Regions from separate parts of the Homo sapiens genome. Here region 1 is linked to region 2. Evidence: promoter capture Hi-C in human tissues and cell types (Jung and others, 2019). All regions are on one chromosome and are shown on one strand. Each heading gives the region's core, a stretch centred on a gene start or on the middle of the fragment in contact. The rest is flanking DNA. Distances are from core to core; before and after follow the strand shown.

What was found. Contacts are between HindIII fragments. The study calls those that stand out against the background at their distance.
Region 1: a contact is called between a fragment that was not itself captured here and the fragment with the promoter of PAPOLB in region 2, in 1 of the 25 tissues and cell types used here (dorsolateral prefrontal cortex).

What each region holds. Positions count from the first base shown.
Region 1 is chr7:5,053,821-5,058,862 of GRCh38, reverse strand. It overlaps RBAK-RBAKDN (RBAK-RBAKDN readthrough), which reads right to left. Exons shown (of 6, transcript NM_001204513.3): 3 at 1,442-1,568; 4 at 1,084-1,179. RBAK (RB associated KRAB zinc finger) reads right to left here. Exons shown (of 5, transcript NM_021163.4): 3 at 1,442-1,568; 4 at 1,084-1,179. Among named protein-coding and RNA genes, the nearest start is that of RBAK-RBAKDN, 10 kb to the right of the region's middle. The HindIII fragment of the contact is 6,513 bases long and covers 1-5,042 here.
Region 2 is chr7:4,859,949-4,865,060 of GRCh38, reverse strand. PAPOLB (poly(A) polymerase beta) reads left to right here and starts at 3,031. Exons shown (of 1, transcript NM_020144.5): 1 at 3,031-5,112. The coding sequence starts at 3,251. All of the region lies in intron 2 of RADIL (Rap associating with DIL domain), which reads left to right. RefSeq lists an enhancer at 3,176-3,788. The HindIII fragment of the contact is 5,879 bases long and covers 1-5,112 here.

The sequences.
Region 1 (5,042 bases), core at 628-3,127, 190 kb before region 2:
AGATTAGATAAACTCTTTTAAGGGATACAAAGAAAACCAAAAAAGTGGAAAACAGGTCCTAGGGGGACAGTCCTGAAAAGGCAAGAAAAGGAACCGACATTCACTTATGAAATTCACACTTCCTGAATGTCTACTATGGACAGAGCATGATTCCAGTTATGGGGAAGGGGAAATGAACACACAGACGGGTCATGAGCAGTGGGGAAAGAGACGAAGGCTGAGGGAGTGCTATAGCGTCACATCAACTGAGCATGGACTTTGGGAAATAACAGACACCACAAGCTGTGACTCAGTTCACAAGCATAGGTGGAGGATGAGGTTTTGGTATCTGAATGCCTAAAGAAGTAAATAAAATCGAGGGCAGAAAATAAGTCCAAGGTATTTTTAAAGCAAGGAAGGAAAGAAAATGGAAGATAAAAGGAATGAACATAAAAGTCTCAAGTTGATTTTTATGTCAGACTTCTGAATGCCCCAAAACAAAACAATTCTGTAAGGCCGGGAGCCTCAGGACTGTAATCTCAGCACTTTGGGAGGCTGAGGTGGGCAGATCACTTGAGGCCAGGAGTTCAAGACCAGTGTGGTCAACATGGTGAAACCCTGTGTCTACTAAAAATATAAAAATTAGCCAGGCGTGGTGGCATGTGCCTGTAATCCCAGCTACTTGGGAGGCTGAGGAAGGAGAATCGCTTGAACCTGTGAGGTGGTGGTTGCAGTGAGCTGAGATCATACCACTGCACACCAGCTTGGGTGACAGAACAAGATTCTGTCTCCAAAACAAACAAACAAACAAACAAACAAACCCAAAACAATTCTGTAATGGCAAGGGAGTAAATAAGTTACCAATAATGCTGGAGAAAGAGGAAGTGAATGGGTCTCCAGTACCGGTTAGAATGAAAAAATCCCTACCAATGTAAATCAAATGTAAAATCAACAAAAGAGTTCATGTATGTGTGCGGGAAGGAAAGTGATATTTGGGGGTTGGGAGGTGTTACTGAGGGTACTGAATACATATAAACAACTCTTTAGTCTCTCCCAAAGGTCTGGGATGAGCATTTTTTAACCTTTGATACGCTACTAACTTACCTGGACTATGTTGACATGGAAATTCACCTCCCATTATCCACGGCTCCTCTCCCTGCTCCAACTTAATGATGACGTTTGGCTTGGTGGTATCATATCCTGTTAATGGGAAAAGAAGGAGGACTTGGGGAAGCTGCTTGGCTTCAGAATCTCTGAAGTACAAGATGTTGCCACCTCATAAGCTGCATAACAGAAGTGCTCCATTTTTTACCTTATCAAAGTTAGAACCTTTCAATGAATAATAATATAAACACTCCAGCTAGTGCCCACAAGGAATTAAATGGTGTCATCACTTATTTCTTCAAACTCAAGGATAAAACCCCATTCAACTGAGAGCATTCAGAAAGCAAGCTATTCTCACCCACAGAAACTAGATGGCTATAGTTCTCCAACATCACATCCCTGTAAGTTATCTTCTCATCAGGGTCCAGCTGCTGCCACTCCTCCTGGGTGAAATCCACAGCCACATCTTTGAATGACACTGGCCCCTGTAATGGCAACATGATCAGAATTGGGAGATACGGAAAAGGGATAGGGGGATAACGTTTTACAAAGCCCACCGGTAAAGTTAACCATAAACATTGTATACCTTATTTTATGTTACAGATTATGGAAGGGAAATCATATTGGAAACACATATCCTTTGGGGTTATAATACATAATATATAAAATATATAATATATATAAATATATATAATATATATAAAAAATATATATATATTGCCCCACAAAAATAAAAACCCAAAACACAACTGAGCTCCTATTTTGCAAGTGAACTAGCTGAGCTTTGGGGACATGAGATGAGTGAAACACCATGCCTGCTCCCAAAGTGAACAACCTAAAAAGGAGATAAACATGTAAACAAACACAAGCATTTTACTCCTTGTCACTTCTTTTAGTCTTCCTTGCTGCCAGGCCCTCCCCTTGCCCTGGACCTCTTCATGTTGGAGTGCCCACCACTCAGCTCCTGGTCCTCTTCCTCCTAACTCACTGCTCTGGGGCTCTCACCTAGTTTCAGCTCCTTGTTCTTTTGGCTCTTTTATTCTCATAGCCAGTGGCCTCTGGCTATCTGCATGGCTGAGTTTTATCTCAAACATCTCAATCTTGGAGCAATAAATATTCGTTAAATGAATGAATGCCCAAAGCTGTTATTAGAGTAATGCAGACAAGGTGCAGAATGATTTAACAAAAGAGGATCAAATTATTTTAATTTTATGCCATCAGATTAGGCTTCACAGACTCAGTTAACTTGAAGTCTTTAAAGATGAATTGTGCATTCTATGGGATGAAGGGGAAGAAGAATATGATGAGGTGTACAAAGTACCAATGGCAAACGGGAAGCAGCTTCAATTTTTAAGTGGTTGGGGCTGGGCATGGTGGCTCATGCCTATAATCCTAGCACTTTGGGAGGCCAAGATGGGAAGATCGTTTGAGCTCAGGAGTTCGAGACCAGCTTGGGCAACATAGTAAGACCTCATCTCTGCTAAAAATAAATTAAAAAAAAAAAATTGGCTGGGCATCATGGCACACGCCTGTAGTTCTAGCTACTTGGGAGGCTAAGGCAGGAGGATCACTTGAGCCTGGGAGGTCAAGGCTGCAGTGAGCTGTGAATGCAACACTGCACTCCAGCCTAGGCAACAGAGTGAGACCTTGTCTCAAAAAAAAAAAAAAAAAAAAAGAAAAATGCAAAACTCCTGGGCTCCAGCAATCCACCTGCCTTGGCCTCCCAAAGTGTTGGGATTACAGGCTTGAGCCAGCACGCCCTGCCCAAACTTGTAGTTTAGAAAAAGGAAGTGCCCAGTAAGCAGGCTGCATTATCCTATTATTTATAAAGAACATATCAACAAGGGGTTCAAATCCAGTGATACAGCTAGGACCATGTAGATCCCAAGAGATAGCAGAGGCAGGGCCGCTAGGCTGTGGGCTGAGAAACTAAAGCAGAACATCCAAGCTTATCCACAGTCAGGCCACAGGAGCTGATAAAATCACCGAGAGAGAGTAATAACCTTCTGGGTTAAGTTAGTCCAGAAGGCAAGGAGGTAGTAGGGGTTAGAAGACTGATCAACCAATAAATAACATAAAATTACATGCCAATACCACTTACATCAATACAAAAACCCAAAATGAAACATAATCAAACAAAATCCAGTACCAGATTAAAAACATAATATACAATAGCCAAATGGGACTTATTCCAATAATATAGACTAGTTTAATATTTGGAAATCTATTAATATGATAAGCCACTATAACACAGCAAAGAAGAAAAATCTTGTATCCGTGAAGATACCTGAAAAAGCTTGACAGAAAAAGCTGATTTAAAAAAACAAACTAAAGAAAATAGAAACTGATGGATACTTCATTAACATCAATAACATGTATATACACAAATATAAATATTGCACCCTAATATGCAATAGTATGTATGATATATATGTGACATATGTATTTCAATTACACACAAGCACATATATATACAGTTTGTGTGTATATACACGCACGCACACACACACACACACACACACACACACACACATTTATGCCTCAGTCTTCTCGGTCCAAAAGTCAGGATTTTACTTAACAGGGAAAAACTACATACCTTCCTACTAAGATCAAGAACAAGGTATTAATAAAATGCTCATTATCTACAATTAGAGAAGATAAAACAATTAGAGGAATATAACTAAGAAAAAGTAAAAGTGCTCGGGCACGGTGGCTCACGCCTGTAATCTCAACACTTTGGGAGGCCGAGGCGGGCAGATCACCCGAGGTCAGGAGTTCAAGACCAGCCTGGTCAACATGGTGAAACCCCCATCTCTACTAAAAAACAAACAAACAAAAAAAATTAGTTGTATTATTAAGGTCAACTTACCCTACCTAGGGTAAGTCAGTTACCCTAAATTACTTTATAAATATGCAACCCCAGTAAAAATACCAAAAAGCTTTTTCCTGGAACTAGATAAGCTGACACTACAGTTCATATGAGGTGGAAGAAAATCAAAAACAGCTCAGGGAAAAACACCATTTGGACATGGACAAAACTGGATCCAGGCCAGGTGCAGTGGCTCATGCCTGTAATCCCAGCACTCAGGAAACTGAGGCAGAAGGACTGCTTGAGGCCAGGAGTTTGAGACCAGCCTTGGCAACATAGCAAGACCCTGTCTCTACAAAGAAAAAAATATATATATTAGAAAAAATATATATAGAGAGAGACATGAGGACTTCTGCCCTCAGTTGTGATAAACTAACAGGTACTGGATATACCCTCCAACCTGAAATGGCACATAACAAAGAACAGCAGCAACAACAAAATCAAAAACAGAAAGAAAAATAAAACGGAGAACATATATGAAGCAATGGTTTTTTTTTTTTTTTTTGAGGCAAAGTCTCACTCTTGTCTTCTAGGCTGGAGTGCAATGGCACAATCTTGGCTCACTGCAACCTCCGTCTCCCGGGTTCCAGCGATTCTCCTGCCTCAGTCTCCCAAGTAGCTGGGATTACAGGCGTGTACCAGCATGCCTGGCTAATTTTTGTATTTTTAGTATAGAAGGGGTTTCACTATGTTGGCCAGGCTGGTCTCAAACTCCTGACCTTGTGATCTGCCCTCCTTGGCCTCCCAAAGTGCTGTGATTACAGGTATGAGCCACCACGCCCGGGCTGAAGCAATGGTTTTCAAGGCACTGATTATCAGGCAGTAGAGTTATCTATGAGTGATGGGAAATAAACAAGGTGAACCAATCAACTTCTGCCTTGAGTGTTTCCAGGCCACAGAGCAGGGAAGAAGAACAGAGACAGATGTGAGGTGTAAGAGTTGCGAGATGGGAAAATGGGCAGGAAATTACAACCATAAGGAAGAAAAGAATCAGTCCATCAAAACTGGCCCAGAATTGACAGAGTTTACAACCCACACAGAGCACTGAGAGAGTTCATCATTCTATTCCACATGTTCAAAAAAATTGAGA
Region 2 (5,112 bases), core at 1,782-4,281:
GGGATGAGAGAGAATGAAGCAAAGGCAGGCACTGCAAGAAGGCCATTGCAGCTGGTGCAGAGGGGAAAGTTGCAGAAGGTGCGGCTAGACAGATAGTTGGGGAAAAGATCTACCTGGCTTGTTATGTATTTTGGATTTTACACTGTGTATAATGGGAGGTCATTGGAGGGATTAAAAGATGACTCTGGCTCCTAGGTAGAGAATACTTTGAAAAGGTCAGTAATAGGAGATTAATTTAGTTGTTGTAGAAGTTGAAATGAGAGTTGATGGTGGCTTGGACTAGAGTTATAAGGGAACAGGTAGAAAGCAGTAGAGGGATTTTAAGTATATTCTGGAGGTGAAATCAACAGAACTTGTAAATGAATTGGATGTTGAGGATGCAAAACAGGGAGGTGTCCAGAATGACTCCCAGGTTTCTTGTATCAAGAGTTGGGTAGAAAGAGATGTCATTTCCTAAAATGGAGACTACTGAGAGAGAAGCAAACTGTGGGAGGATGAGTTAGAGTTCTCTTTAAACTATGTTAAGTTAAAGGCATCCAAATATAGGTGGCAACCACAGGCAGTCAGATAATATGGATCTGGAGTTCAGAAGAGAGTCTGATTAAAATATGAATTAATCTGTAAGTAAGTGGTATTTAAAGCTGTGGAAATCAGCAGATTAACCAGGCAGTGAATGTACATGCAGTGAGGAGAAATGAGGGCTTAGAATGGAAACTGGAGGAACTCCCAACATTTAGAGGTCAAGTAAAGGAGGAGGAATCAGCAAATTTGACTGAGGACTGGCCAGACATGTGGAAGACAAAGAGTATGGTGTCGCAGAGGCCAAGATGAAGCTACCATAGGTCAAAGAAGATGGAAATCATTGGGGTCATGGGTTGGGCAACATGGAGGTCACCAAAGACCTTGCTGATAGCTGTTTTTGAGCATGTAAGCCAATGTTGAAATGGATTAAAAAGAAGGTATTTATATTTCTGGCAATATATGGGATTAATTATCCCAGAAAATCTTTCTATGTAAAGTGCCTGGAAATGTTGGATAAATATAAGAAATCATTTTTTTGAATGCATAGCTGAGTACCCAGGAAAATAAAGGAAGTCTCTAGGGCTGGAAGAAAAAGGGATACCTTGAAACCTCAGGATTGTAGCTGATTCTGAAACTAGAACCGCCCTAGAGGCATTGGCCAGTCTTGGAAACTGAGAAACTTAAGTTTAGCAGCTGTCCAAGAAGAGACAGAAAGCTCTTGGGACCTTAAAAGGTAGGGAGTTAGAATTGAGACCCCTCCAAATACAATTGGAATCCTCAAAGGGTGACACATTGAGTGAAAAAATGGAGTAAGAAGAATCTGCTACCTGGTGAAAGGAGATGGCAAAGGAAGTTCTCTCTCTTGACTTGGGTGGGAAAAACTAAAGACTGTTCCTTAAAAATGAAAACCACATGTCCTCTTACATGTATTTGGGGTTCAAAGTTGCACCATCTAGATGTTGTGGATAATCCCTGGATAAGAAATTACACTGACTGCAATTCTATAGTGTACAAGAACATCTACTGGAAACAAAGCAAATCCTCTTTGGAAGGACACAGCGTCTACACAGGCATTCCAAGCTTCACCAGAAATGAGCTCACAATCCAAAATTACAAGACCCAAGAGGTAATACCACTCTGAGTTCTTGGATAACAACAAACTATACAGTTTCTCAAGAGCATTCGGAATTAGAATAATTAGTTATAGAGTACTAAATAAGTATGTTTAACACGTTTAAAGAAATAAAAGGTAGGGGGAAAAACATGAAAGAACAGAATGCCATCTAAAAGGCAGAGAAGCTTGGAAAAGAACAAAATAGTGAAATATAAGTATTTAAGTGGATATTTCAATGATGCTTAAACAGCAGACTAAATACAACTGAAGAGAGGACTTGGAGGTAATCTGGCATCACCCAGAAAGACACACGGCTTAAGAGACATGGAGGACAGAGTGAGAAGGTTGACAACGTGTCTAGATGAAGAGAATCAGGAGACAAGTGGGAGAACATATTCCCAGGAAGTGCCCAAGAAGCTTCTGGAGATCATAAAAAGCATGACTTCTGATTCGGGAATCATAGTGTATCCTGGGTAAGATTATATTTTTTATTTTTTATTTTTATTTTTAATTTTATTTTTTTTTTTGAGACAGAGTTTCACTCTTGTTGCCCAGGCTGGAGTGCAATGGTGTGATCTTGGCTCACCGCAACCTCTGCCTCTCAGGTTCAAGCAATTCTCCTGCCTCAGCCTCCCGAGTAGCTGGGATTACAGGCATGCACCACCACGCCCGGCTAATTTTGTATTTTTAGTAGTGACGGGGTTTCTCCATGTTGAGGCTGGTCTCCAACTCCTGACCTCAGGTGATCTGCCCGCCTCGGCCTCCCATAGTGCTGGGATTACAGGCGTGAGCCACTGCGCCCAGCCTGGGTAAGATTATTAAAGAGAAATCTATGCCTGGACACACAGTGGTGGGATCACAGGGCACTAGGGACAGACACTTTTATAGCTGCCATAAGAAAAGACAGACGAGCAGTAGTTCACCTAGCTGCGGAATTCTCAACGGGAACCAGAGGACAGCAGTATCGCGCCCTTAAAGCATGGCCAGAACACAAATGTCGACCTCGAAATGCTGCCCCAGCTAAACCAATGTCCAGCAACGGCCCAAGAAACAAGACAGAAGCTGCTTTCCACCGCGGGTTCCCACCACGAAGGGGTCTTTGGACTTCCAAAGGGTGCACGCTAGGGTGAAGAGTGCTGAGGGTGCCCCCAAAAAGGATGCACATCTGCGATGTCAAGGGACTTGGAGAGCAAAGAATTAGATGGGTAAAGTTGGGCAAATATGTAAAATAGTGGCAATAAAGGGTTGAGTTTGGCCGGTCATCAACAACGTGAATCCTGCCCACCCCCATGTATAGCCCCCCGCGCAGCGGTAGGAGCCCCAGCCCAGAACGCTGTGGCTCCCGTGAGCCCTCGCGCTGGCGGCGGGTGCGCAGGCGCCCGCGCGTGTACGGTAGGTTCTGGAACGCAGCCGCTGAGGGGTCTGGCGCCATGTTGGGGCTGAGGGGAAGGAGGAGAAGCTCCTGAAGCGGCGGGCGCGCAGCGGGAGTGGGAGTGGGGTCGGACCAGGGCAGCTAGAAGCCCTGCCCTTCCGCCTCAGCGGATCATGACCCGGGCGGCGGCCGCGAAGGTCGCGGTGGTGGGGGACGTGCCCTGGCGGGGCGGGCGCTGAAAGATGATGCCGTTTCCGGTGACAACCCAGGGACCACCGCAGCCGGCGCCGCCGCCGAATCGCTACGGCGTCTCCTCGCCTATCAGTCTAGCGGTCCCCAAGGAGACGGACTGCCTCCTCACCCAGAGGCTAATAGAAACCCTCAGGCCCTTCGGGGTCTTCGAAGAGGAAGAGGAACTGCAGCGCAGGATTTTAGTTTTGGAAAAATTAAATAATCTGGTAAAGGAATGGATACGCGAAATCAGTGAAAGCAAGAGTCTTCCCCAGTCTGTAATTGAAAACGTTGGAGGAAAGATTTTTACGTTTGGCTCTTACAGATTAGGAGTACATACGAAAGGCGCAGATATTGACGCCTTGTGCGTTGCACCAAGTCATGTGGATCGAAGCGACTTTTTCACCTCATTCTATGCTAAACTGAAACTACAGGAGGAAGTGAAAGATTTAAGGGCTGTCGAGGAGGCATTTGTGCCAGTTATCAAACTGTGTTTTGATGGGATAGAGATTGATATTTTATTTGCAAGATTAGCACTACAGACTATTCCAGAAGATTTGGACTTAAGAGATGACAGTCTACTTAAAAATTTAGACATTAGATGCATAAGAAGCCTTAATGGTTGCCGGGTAACCGATGAAATTTTACATCTAGTGCCAAACATTGACAACTTCAGGCTGACTCTGAGAGCCATCAAACTGTGGGCCAAGTGCCACAATATCTATTCCAATATATTAGGTTTCCTCGGAGGTGTTTCCTGGGCCATGCTAGTAGCAAGAACTTGTCAGCTTTATCCAAATGCAGTAGCGTCAACTCTTGTACGGAAATTCTTCTTGGTATTTTCAGAATGGGAATGGCCAAACCCAGTGTTACTGAAGGAGCCTGAAGAACGGAATCTTAATTTGCCTGTATGGGACCCAAGAGTAAATCCCAGTGATAGGTACCATCTTATGCCTATCATCACACCAGCATACCCACAGCAGAACTCCACATACAACGTGTCTATTTCAACCAGGATGGTCATGATTGAGGAGTTTAAACAGGGGCTTGCTATCACACACGAGATTTTGCTAAGTAAGGCAGAGTGGTCCAAACTCTTTGAAGCTCCAAGCTTCTTTCAAAAGTACAAGCATTATATTGTACTTCTGGCAAGTGCATCAACAGAAAAACAACATTTAGAATGGGTGGGCTTGGTGGAATCAAAGATCCGAATCCTGGTTGGGAGCTTGGAGAAGAATGAATTTATTACACTGGCACATGTGAATCCACAGTCATTTCCAGCACCCAAAGAAAATCCTGATATGGAAGAATTTCGTACAATGTGGGTGATTGGGTTAGGGCTAAAAAAGCCAGATAATTCTGAAATTCTCAGCATTGATCTCACCTATGATATCCAGTCTTTCACAGATACTGTTTATAGGCAAGCAGTGAATAGTAAGATGTTTGAGATGGGTATGAAAATTACTGCAATGCATTTAAGAAGAAAGGAACTTCACCAGCTGCTGCCTCATCATGTGCTTCAGGACAAGAAAGCACACTCAACAGAAGGTAGAAGATTGACAGATTTGAACGACAGCAGCTTTGACTTGTCTGCAGGCTGTGAAAACAGCATGTCTGTGCCTTCATCTACTAGCACTATGAAGACAGGCCCATTGATTAGCAGTTCTCAGGGTAGAAACAGTCCTGCCTTGGCTGTAATGACAGCATCTGTGGCTAACATACAGGCTACTGAATTTTCCTTGCAACAGGTGAATACCAATGAAAGTTCAGGGGTTGCATTAAACGAAAGTATTCCTCACGCTGTCTCTCAGCCTGCCATTTCTCCATCACCAAAGGCCATGGTCGCCAGAGTTGTTTCTTCAACATGTCTCAT